Linked DNA regions of Homo sapiens: region 1 is linked to region 2. Evidence: promoter capture Hi-C in 16 types of primary human blood cells and fetal thymus (Javierre and others, 2016). All regions are on one chromosome and are shown on one strand. Each heading gives the region's core, a stretch centred on a gene start or on the middle of the fragment in contact. The rest is flanking DNA. Distances are from core to core; before and after follow the strand shown.

Region 1 (6,239 bases), core at 716-3,215, 460 kb before region 2:
TCAGCCTGGGCTTGGCCTGCTTGCTCAAACTGTTCTAAAAGATGATGCATTTCTTCCTGCAGATTATGGAAGGATAATTTTCTCTCTGCCACTTCAAGTTCCATCTTTTCCAGTAGAATCTTGGACTCCTCTCTTTCTGTTTCCACAGTGTTCCTCAAAGTATTATGCTCAGCTTCCATCTGCTGTAACTGCTGAGAGAGAATCTAAGAAAAAAGACAAAGTCTCATGAGCCATAAATACATTATTTCATTTCAACAAGCATTGTAAAGTGCTTTTTCTTATAGGATGGAAAAAAATGGGAACATGTTTCTATGCTAGAGAGAAAGCCCTTCTCAAGAAGGAGAGTTGAAAATTAAGAAGAGAGGAGATGGCTGACTCCCCAGCAGCACACAGGCACCCAGAAAAACAAACAGAGAATGTGGACTATAGCACCAATTCTGCATTATGATGAGACTACTTGGATGTGACAGGATAGGAACACAAGGAATCCAAGGGGTAGAAAAAAGGTAGTTCAAACTGTCAAGCATGGGTCCATATAGGACACAGAAAGGAGCAAGGGTAAGGAAGAATTAACATACTAGAGAAGCAAAGTGGAATTCAATGGAATTCAATGAGAATGAAGATCAGGACAATATGAGAAAGAAAATGGCAGGATGGATTATAGTCAGATCAGCATTACTGATTACCTTCATACTCAAGAGAATATTGCAGAACGAGATCATTTCAATCTAACAGAAGGTCAATTTACAAAAACAAGAAAAGATGGGCTGTACATAAAGCACAAAAACCATTCAAGACAGAGAAGAGTAACTGATGAAAAAGAAACTCACTAAAGGATAATACAGGTCAAGTATCCCTTATTCTAAATGCTTGGGACCAGAAGTATTTTAGTTTTCCATTTTTTTCAGATGGTGGAATATCTTGGATATCTTGGGATAGGACGCAAGTCTAAACATGAAATTCATTTGTTTCATATACATCGTATACACATAGCCTAAAGATAATTTTATACAGTATTTTAAATGATTTTGTGCATATTTGCCTTTGATCTGTTACCCTGTTCCACAAGGTCAGTTGTGGCATTTTCCACTTGTGGTGTCATGTTGGTGCTCAGAAAATTTCAGATTTTGCAGCATTTTGGATTTTCAGATTAGGCATACTCAATCTGTATGACATTCTAGATAAACTAGGACCCTAGATCTAAAATGGCAAAGGGAAAGAGCAACAATAAAGAAGTGCAATGTATGCTCCATGAGGGAAAGAACTGTATTTAGTTTTGCTCATAATTGTACTGCATCCCCACCACTTAAGTACGAGGTATTTGTTGAAAGAATGAATAAATGGCATCAATTCTCTGAAGACTTTAAATAGGCTTTTATATCTACTGCCTGGCAAACGAAAGTGGAAATGAATACCCTCCAAGGCAGGAAGTAAAGATTAAAAGGCAGTACCTGGTTTCTCTGCTCAGCAGCAGTCAGCTCCTGTTGCAGCAAGTCAACGACCTGAGCACGGCCCACCAAGGATTCTTCGTGTTCCTCAAGCTTCCTTTGCAGCACCCTCAATTTCTGAGAAGAAAACATTTTAGACATAATATGCTAACAAATGAGTGCTTGTATTTGCTTATCTTTCAAAATGTCATGTAGATTTGTATACTTAAATTTTGGGGTGTTGAAAATGACAGTTTAAAGAGTGGGAGACCAGCATGCCATGCTCCCCCCATCCAGCAGCAACGAAGAGTCTCCAAAATGTCTTCTCCAGAGCACCAACAACAACCAGACCCAGACACAAGCAAGTCCCTGAATTAGGGAGTCTCTTTAAAAATTAGAAAAAACAATAACACATATCTGCCTTCAAAATCATACAGTTAATAACCTGTACCTAGATAGCATAGGTACATGTACATCTTACCCACCCAAGAGAACATTCTCTGCAGGCAAGAATCATTTCTCTTCTCCTAGTTTCATGCACTGGGCAGGCACTTGAAAAAAAATTGTTGAATAAATAAAGCAATGATACACATATACAATTAGTATTCTACTTAATAATATGTTGTATTCTAAAACTTTATTTAGTGGTGCATTCTGAAAGATTGCTTAGAACTTAAAAGTTTCCGTTCTAATTAATTCTAATTAATTTTCAATCTAATTAAACAGATCAAACATAAAGTATCACTGAAGTGCCTTTCAGTACCACAATGCACTACACACTAAGTGAAATAAAATACTTTGAGTTAGTAGATGGTGAACTCAAATACAATGAAGCCAATTTTCAAAATCTACTCAAATTTTTTTAAAAAAGAATTACTGATCTAATAAAAGACTTCATGTCTTCAAAATCATTCTTTGTCTTCTCTAATTTTTTAAATATTTAAAACTGACTTCATTGATTTGAAGCTTTGGGTTAGGTGTGTAATGCACAAAGGTAGCTATAATCAGAAAACTGAAGAGAAACCAATTTTTGACTACCACATAAATTCACCAACTAAACTCAGCTTTTGAGCACCAACAACCTGATTAGAGGGGTAAAAGGCAAGAAAAGGATAAGAAAAAATAAATAATTTTTATGCAACAGAAGACAAGGACACAAAAGAGGCCAATAAGGAAAACACTAACACCAAGTGAAGAGCAGTGGGTAAGGGTAGGAAATTGGCTGTGATGGATTAAATATTAACCAAAATGACAGTCATTCTACCGAGTTTTAGCAACACACCTGTTGCATCTCTGTTTCCACATCTGCCTGGGTTACTAACTGAAGAAGCTCATCTTCATGAAGACGAACTTGTGTTTCAAAGCGGGCATCTTTCTCTCGGACCACCTGCTGCATGGAACTCAACTGAAGACACATACCAGAGAAACTATGCAAGTTACACTCCCCGAATATTGCACAAATAAAACTCACAGACTACTTTCCAAGACAGACACTGAGACTTGATAGTAGCTTTTTAAAGTGAAATTTTGATTGTCAAGGATGAGGATGTTGGAAGAGAGATAGGCTGGACAGTAACTATGAAATGCGAGAGAAAGCCTATTTTCAAATTCAGAAGTTAGCCTAAACATAAATTTTGATCAAAAATTATATGTTCATGGTTACTAGAAATGTTTTAAATATACAAGAAGTGTATTTTTTAAAGTTCTAAAAAGATTAAGATATTAAACACATAAGGTGAAGTTAAGTTAGATTTCTATTAAACCCTGGACACTTCTTGCTCATGGCTGAAAAGCTTTCAGTAAAATTCTCATGCCCTATAAATGAAAATTCAAACTAACATATCATTTATTCAAGATTCTCTACAACTGGAAATACCAATCTATCTTTCTAGTCTTATTTTCAAAGAATTGCTTCTACCAAAGAACCTCATGTGCTTCTAAATCCACACCACCTCCCCAGACAGCTGTTTTCAGCTGTCATTACTTGCAGCCTTCTAGATCATGCTCATTTTTAACTGGCTCTGAACAGAATGAAATGGAAATAAATGGACTGATGGTGAGCTGCTCAGTATCAGTGCTTCTGTCTTGTTTTTAGGTTGTGAGTGTGTGCATCTGCTTATTCATCTCCTTAAGATCTATGGTGGAGCATGCTGCTTAGCTGTTAGCTTGCCTATTTTGCATTGGTCCTTTACTGCTGATATCTCAGTTTGTGACACCTTGAATCAAACTTTGGCTTTCTTTTTTGGTAGGAGAAAAACAAATCCTCAGAATGTTTTTATTATCTGAATTGTGACCTCACTAGGAATTTGGACTCTTGTGTTTCAAGTGTGTAGGCACTGGAGTCTTTCATTAGCCAAACATCTCTAACTCCTTTCCCATAACTGTTCCATATTCTTTTCCTTCTCTGCAGTTTTGCTCACACCGTTCCCCATCACTGAAATATCTCCCCCAGCTTGTCTGGAATATTATCTATATATCATGGTTTTGCCTAAATCCCAACTTTTCCGTGTAATTTTCCTTAACTGTCAAACTCACAGTAACCTCTTTCGCCTTCCAAAATATTTTGTTTGTATTGCTGCTTGCTTTGGCACTTATTCGGAAAGCCTTAAATTACGATGAATCTCTTAACACATGTATGTATCTTGGCTTTCCATATTTTAGCAACACATAGGTTAAAAACCATATTTTGTATTTCTTCATCCTGCACTGTATATAGTGCTTATACATAAAAAGGACACAATAAAAAATAAATAAAAAATTTAAAAAGGACACAATAAAAGCTAATAGGTAAAACCAAGAATTTCAGGATATACAATTTTAACTGTATACATAGCAGTAGGCCAACCACAGAGAGAAGGCACTACTAATACTACAAATTATTAATAAAGTAAACACCTAATGGATAATTAGCTATGTACAAAGGTACTTCAGGGAAAAAAATCTTTCATGATTCATAAGCATTCCCCCACCGCTGCCCCCACCCCCCAAAAAAAATTACAGTGCCTGTAATCCCAGCACTTTGGGAGGCCGAGGTGTGAGGATCACTTGAACTCAGGAGTGCAAGGCCTGCCTGGGCAACATATTGAGAACCTGTCTCTTCAAAAAATGTAAAAAATTTAGCCAGATGCAGTGGCACATGCCTGTAGTCCCAGCTACTTGGGAAGCTGAGGTGAGTGAGAGGATGGCTTGAGCCCAGGAGACTGAGGCTGCAGTGAGCTATGATTGTACCACTTGTACTCCAGCTTGGGCAACAGAGTGAGACCCAATTTCAAAAATAAATATGTGGGAGTGCGTGGCCAACCAAGAAACCTAGAAAAATAGAAAAAGTTGAGGATGCCAATCCAAATGGTCTGGTCTTGACAGATGAAAAAAATGGGAAGAAGAATGTCACATACTGGTGCCATTTAACATAAAATCACATGACCTACACCACTTTCTCATTACAGGCTCACTAAGTAATCTAACTATAATTTATTTCCTATTAAGATAGATATTATTTTGGGAAAGAATGAACCTAATTATTTTTATTTCTTTTGGTTTACTTATTGGTCTCTTTTGAACTCAGCATGAGTCCATTCCCAAAAGACTGAATCTCTGTCTGCTATTAAAATTAAGTTTCTGGACATGCAGAACTAAGAAACAGTCATCAATTAGGCTATAGAAAATTCATCAAGGTAAATAACACATTGTGAGGTTTTCTGGTGTTCCCTAATGACACACTTACCTACCACACATCTCCTAATCTCTTCTACTACATATCCTTCTAATTTCTAGTGCAACACCCATGCTACTATACTTTTATCTACTAGGATTTTTTAAAGTGACTCACTGAATTGACTTGTGCGTAATAACCCACTGGACTTCATAGCTCTTTATCCTAATTTTGTGAGGTCCCTACCTGTGCAGCTTGCTCTGCCTGTGTCTGGCTGAGCTGGGCTTGTAAAGTGCTAATGAATTCTTCCTTCTCCTGGAGCTGTTGCTTCATCATTACAAATTCTTCCATCTCTGTAGAACTCTTATCAAACCGAAGACATAGAAGGAAAAAAAATTATTTAAGCAAAAGAATGAGCATTATTAATTCTTTGACCTCCCTTTCTTGCTTAACCTAAATGCCTACCATATTTCCTTCTAGTTTCCATTGAACCCAAAAGGAAATTGCATGCATTATCAAAATTTTATTTGTCAGAAGAAGACAGAAGCAGTAGTGGCAATTTTTCAATTTCTCTGACTCCTCACATAGAGACAGCACAAGATAGTAAAACCAAAAAAACCACAGATAACATTTACAGTTAAATTAGGCAGACCGTCCTAAAAACCCTAAAATATAAGCTAATAAGGACAAACCACCAAAACCCACAAGAACTACATTGTATTAGAGTCTTACATTGTGTAAGAAAAAGAAGGCAGCAAAAGAGTGAAATCTGATGGGTCTGAGAAAGGGACAGCCCTAAACAGCCAATGTATTTATTTGCTGGAATGAACAGCTGGCCAATTTTAGAATAGTGGCAGGGCTTTGCCATTCTTTAATACTAGGTAAATGCAAGGGGTGCACAGTAAGGTAAGAAGGACTAAAAGGGCTAGAGCAATCTAGGCCCCCTGAACTCTCACAACTGACTCATCATGGCTCCCTTCTGAGACATGAACCTGTACTAAGAAGAAACTGCGAGGAGTGAAATAAAAATTATGCAGAAAAGGAATTAAAGAGACAGAAGAAAGAGGTCTACAAACGTATTGTATAATTCAGTATCAACTAGCCACATGTGGATATAGAGGGCTTAAAATGGGTCTGATAGAAAAGAAATATTTTTAATT
Region 2 (5,451 bases), core at 2,034-4,533:
AGAGGTTGCAGTTAGCCGAGATTGTGTCACTGCACTCCAGCCTGGGTGACAGAACAAGACTCAGTCTCCAAAAAAAAAAAAAAAAAGAGGGAGAAGAGAGCTCCAGACTGAGAGAAGGAAATGCAAAGGTCCAACACAGGGTATGCTGGGCACATCCAAAGACCAGCAAGGAAACCAGTATGTGTGAAGACAAGGAAGCTGGTAGAGAGATCAGAGACACAGCCAGGACCCACATGATGATGGCCTTAATGGGCCATGAAATTTACTGAATTTCACTCTGAGACAGGAATCCATTACAGACATGGTTTTGAGCAGGGAAATGACCGAATCCAATTTTATTTTTAAATGTGTCATTGCAGTTGCTTTGGGAAGAACAGCCTGTAGGAAGGCAAGGTCAGTGCAGGAAAACCAGATAGGAGGTTTTCTAAGAGAAAGATGATGCCAGCTTGGATAGGGCTGGTAGTGGTGGAGGTAGGAAAAAGAGGTTGAGTCTGGATGTATTTTGAAAGTCAATCCATCAGGACTTGTAGATGGGTTGGAGATAGTAAGTGAGGAAAAGAGAGGCATCAGAGGTGTCTCAGTAAAGAATTTCCTAATCCAATTGAACAAGCTTCCCCTGATGTAGCTCCTCCAGTGGAAGCATTTAGTCCTTTCACTGGACTGTCTGAATGGTCTTTTCCCTACAGCTTATCTGCCCTATATGTTCCCAAGTGGCTTTCTGTTCTTAGCAGTCAGGGGCCCAGGTGATGTCTACTCACCAAATATTCTTGAACCATAAGGCAATCAGATTATGGTTTTGTACATTATGGATTTTCAGACTTTATGGTTTCAAAATAAATTTCCTATACCAAAGATACTTTTTAACTGCTGGGGACCCTATAAACCCTTTTTTCCCCACACATCCATTTTAATACTAGTCCAAAGGGTTAAAAAAATAGCAAGGGGAGCTGCCTTAGGGGAAACAGAGGCCACACGATATGGAATTTGGGGATGGGAAATGCTGGAACATGAAAGGAAGGAGGAACAGCCCCACCATCTTGGCCCTCGGGGATGTTAGGAATAGAGGGTATACCAAAAGAAGGTGTAAGGGAGTAAATGATTGAAGTGTAAACCTCCCAAATGTTGTCTCTTTCAAAAGTTACCTTAGAGAGAATCTGCTAGTGCTCTGTTAATTATACCATGGTCACAGAGGTGCTGCTATTGTTCTGAGCTTACTTGGAACCCTTTTTTTGGATCTGTCCAAAAGGAGTGAATGTAACTTGCTCCAAAATCTGTGTTTCTAGAGGTTAGATACCTGAGAAGCCCTGCTGTCAAGAATCCCAGATTCTCCTGGTTGGCAGGAACTTTAAAGCTTCTAGCCACAGCGTTTGAGCTCCCAAGGCTGTCCTTCAGCATCTTCCCAGGCAGCCCTGATTCATTGTGGACTGAAACCTTTCTGTCATTCCTTCTATCCACTGGTCATAATAGAGTATGGGCTTGTATTTCCAAAATTTAAACATCACTGGTCCTATTAGTTCTTTTAGATCTTTCTTTCAAGTTGCTCATTTTTCTCATATAAGAAAATTTACCTTAAATGGAAACCACATCACTTTGTCAGTGGAAAACTATGTCAATTGGAACTTAACTGCATAAGGAATAATAACAGATGGAAGAGAAAACAATGATATTAAATTCTACTTAGGAGCTGTTGCCTAGCAAAGGTTCTGAGTGAGAGGCAACCTCTGTCTTTGTTAAAACAGGAGATTAGCAAGTGTTACAGAGGGGTGCAAAGACAAATACTACAAAAATGATACTCCTTCCTTGACATAATCCATAGGAACAAAAGAAGTAAAAAGGGCATATCTTTTTTCACCTTGTGATCCACTGTTATCTAATTGTATTGTCTGTGTACCACCCAATACCATGCTTCCAATCTCTACTGGAAGATGTACACACTGGGACACACTGGTAAAGTGATCAAGCACCAGGACTGTAAGTCAAGCTGATCAGGTTCAGCTCTTGGCTCTGCCAACTCCTAGCCACCCAACCCTAAATACCTGAAACTGTATGCATCAGTTTCTTCGTCTTTAAAATGGAAGCAATAATAGATCTTCAGAGTAATACTTTCTTAAAGATAGTGCCCAAATTTGGACATTATGCCCAGGTGTAATCCGACCAGTGAAGAGCATCAGTTCAGCCTAAGATTGCAGCCTCATTCGGGTTTTGAACTGAACTCGTTCAGCCTTTGGGTGTTCACAAAGCTGTGCTTGTAGCCAACTAAAATAAAATCTAAGGTATTTTGATAGGCACCACTACTGAGCCACATCCTCCATTACTTACATTGCTGGGTGTTTCGGCCTGAGGGAGGACTTCACATTTATTCCTATTAACCAGATTTTGCCCCCTTCACTGGTGCTTTAGCATTTGCTCAGCTCCTTCTCCTACCCTGTATTTGAGGGAAAGGAAGCCAAATGGGCAGAACTTGGCCATAATGAGGATGTGTTTGACATGCTGGATTTGAGTCTGTGTTCCATTGAAGAAAAGAAATGGAAACTTTGTTGAGTATCCATTCTATACAGGGCACTTTCCTTGACTATTTCATTTAACACTCCAAGGACCCCCTGAGGTAGATGTTATCGCCATTTTGCAGAGAAGAAATCTGCATTTTTATTTGAAGTTCTTAAACATGGTAAACGACCCAATTTTCTGCTTTTTGCTTAACAGTATTTTGCAAACATTTTATCATGTTACTTCATGTTTTCCTATTTTTTTTTTGCTTTATAAATAAATACATACTCCCTCCTTATTCTAAAAAGAATTTGAAGCACTTCTGTCTTGATGTTTATCATTTTAATGGTTGTATAATGTCCCATTAAGTCACCCTAATTTATTCAACAAATTTCCTACTGTTGACAGTTTGGCTCTGTTTGCTTTTTGTGGTTTTTAAAATTATTTTCTGTAACAAATGATCCTGCTAAAAAAAAAATCTCCGCACGAATATTATTTTGTTCTGGAAATTTCCGCAAGGGTGGAATACTGCATTAAAGGGGATAATATTTTTGGTGTTTCTTTATAGAGCCTAGCAAATTGCCCACCCAAAGGAGTATGCTTTATTTGAGAGTAAAAAGCCAAAAACAAACAAACACATACAAAAAAACTGGTTTTCTACAAAAGAAATTAATTTTCCACTTATTCATAAAATATTCTAGTGCTGTGATGGGTGGCAGGCACCGTGCCAGGGGCTAGGGACAAGGATAAGCAAGGCCAGGTCCGGGCCTCCAAGCAGCGCGCTGTGGAGTCGGGTAGAGTAGACCAAGTGCAACAGGCACCTGGCTGCAGCCAGGAAGGACCGCACGCCCTTTCGCGCAGGAGAGTGGAAGGAGGGAGCTGTTTGCCAGCACCGAGGTCTTGCGGCACAGGCAACGCTTGACCTGAGTCTTGCAGAATGAGTAAGAGTTTGGGCACGCGATTTGTATTTATTTTACTGTGAATCTCTGGCCTTATATCAGAAAAAAAAAAATTGTGCCACCCTCGGCACAGAGAACGTTGGTGGCGTCGTAAGCGCCCTAAGCTTCTTTCCATCGCCAAGGAGTAGGGGTCAGGGAAGAGGACAGCGGGAACAGGATTTGAGAGCCGGGAACCCCTGGCTCGGCACGGGAGAGGGCAGGAGAGGACCTAAGCGCGGGGCTCGCCGTCTGCTGGGGACCCGAGCCGGCCTGTGGCCCTCGGGGAACCGAAGACGCGCCCTCAGCGACCCTGAAGAGTCAGCTAAGCTCTCTGCGGGCTAAGGAGACGGTGAAGGAACCGGGACTAACTGGGGTAGGGGTTAGAAGGCAGCCCGCGAGTGGGCTACGAGGGGAGCTGGGCTCGGCAGTTGGGGACCCCGAGGGGGCAAGCGGGCGGGGAGCAGGAGAGGGGCGGAGCTCCGGGGCCGGGGCCGGGGCCGCAGCGGCCGCCCAGAGGGTCTGCGGGGGCTGCTGTGGCCGGACCCGAAGGCGGGCGCCGGGAGCGCAGCGAGCCAGACGCGCCTCTCCAAGACCGTGACCTTGGCATAGGGAGCGGGGCTGCGCGCAGTCCTGAGATCAGACCAGAGCTCATCCTCGTGGAGACCCACGGCCGAGGGGCCGGAGCTGCCTCTGTGCGAGGGAGCCCTGGCCGCGGCGCAGGTAGGACCGGGGAACCCAAGGAGGGCGGGAGGAAAGCGCCCCTGGTGGGGGAGGGGCCGTGGCGGGGTCTGGGGGCCAAGGGCTCCGGGCCGAACGAGGGGCACACGCCGGAGCAGCTCCAGCCTGGGAGCATTGGGCGTGAACGTGGGGGAAAGTAGGGACCAGATTACAGGATCAAGGCTTTCCCCGGCTCAGAACTGGATTGTTCAGTGCCCCTAGAAGGGGCAGCGGGTCGCCCACGCGAATGAACGGGAGCGCGCACCAAAACGCCTGCTGTTGGTAGTTTCTTGTGCCTCTGCCTTGTTTCTGCCTGTGATATAGTCAGAAAGGACTCGCTTGCCACGTGTTAACAAGGGGACAGGTAGCTTTTACAGAGTGTATGAATATGGAGGGGAGGGCCACAGAGTCAGCTCTGGCCCCAGGGGCCGTCAGTGCCCCCACAGGATTCCTGGTCCAAGCTACCAGCTGTCTTGGGAACTTTGCTTCAGTGGCATCAAATTAGATTGTCAGTTCCCGGGGCCTGAGCACCAGCCTCCATGTGTATTTCCTGGGGAGAAAAAAAAAAGGCATACCAGACTGATGGAGTCTTATCATTATTTTAACATTATAGCTTTCAATAGATAACATGCATATGTTTCTTTTTTTAAGTCAAATAATACAAACATTTATCTTCTACAGGCAATGCGTGCACTAGCATGTGTGTCTATTGCTGTCTCCTTTCTACACCCATAGCCTTTCCCACTCTACGTGTTCTGTCGCCGTCTTTTGATTCTTTATCCAGAAAATGATGTCACCACCACTGCCCACATCCCTTAATCTCCAGTGTTCCTCCTTGCAACGCCTCTCTTGTCCTCAAATATTTTTCACAAGGTGGTCCTCAGGGTAGGGAGCCTACTAACGAGAAGACATTTCGTTTACTTGCTTCAATTATCCCAGAGATTTGAAGAAAAGGCACATTGGGGAAGAGTCCATGTCAAGTTCTAAACACACTTATCTTTCCCCTTAAACTGGATCTTCCAAGTGCAGTTTAGGTAGTCTGTTACTGAGAGAAATAATGCAGGCTGTTTTCTGAAATGCTCTGGATTTCCAGAACTTAACACCACAGTAGTTCCTATTCCTTAAAACAGAACTTCATCAGTCACACCTTGCTGTTGCTTTTCCCATCTCCACTCCAGGATTCCCTAACTGGCATGCCTAGGATTTTTCCTCTGTAGGAACCTGGGAGAGCGGGTGCTTTATACCTGCCTCCCAGGTGTCCAATGAAGGGGCTGAGGGACAAAGCTTTGTGGTGGACAAAAGGGGAGGG

The links. Contacts are between HindIII fragments. The CHiCAGO score rates a contact against its expected background, and 5 or more counts as called.
Region 1: a contact is called between a fragment that was not itself captured here and the fragment with the promoter of CASR in region 2, in 1 of 17 cell types (total B cells). The highest score is 5.3, in total B cells.

What each region holds. Positions count from the first base shown.
Region 1 is chr3:121,716,937-121,723,175 of GRCh38, forward strand. It overlaps GOLGB1 (golgin B1), which reads right to left. Exons shown (of 22, transcript NM_001366282.2): 6 at 5,326-5,442; 7 at 2,710-2,832; 8 at 1,452-1,565; 9 at 1-203. Among named protein-coding and RNA genes, the nearest start is that of GOLGB1, 30 kb to the right of the region's middle. The HindIII fragment of the contact is 852 bases long and covers 1,540-2,391 here.
Region 2 is chr3:122,180,385-122,185,835 of GRCh38, forward strand. CASR (calcium sensing receptor) reads left to right here and starts at 3,284. Exons shown (of 7, transcript NM_000388.4): 1 at 3,284-3,428. The HindIII fragment of the contact is 2,199 bases long and covers 1,350-3,548 here.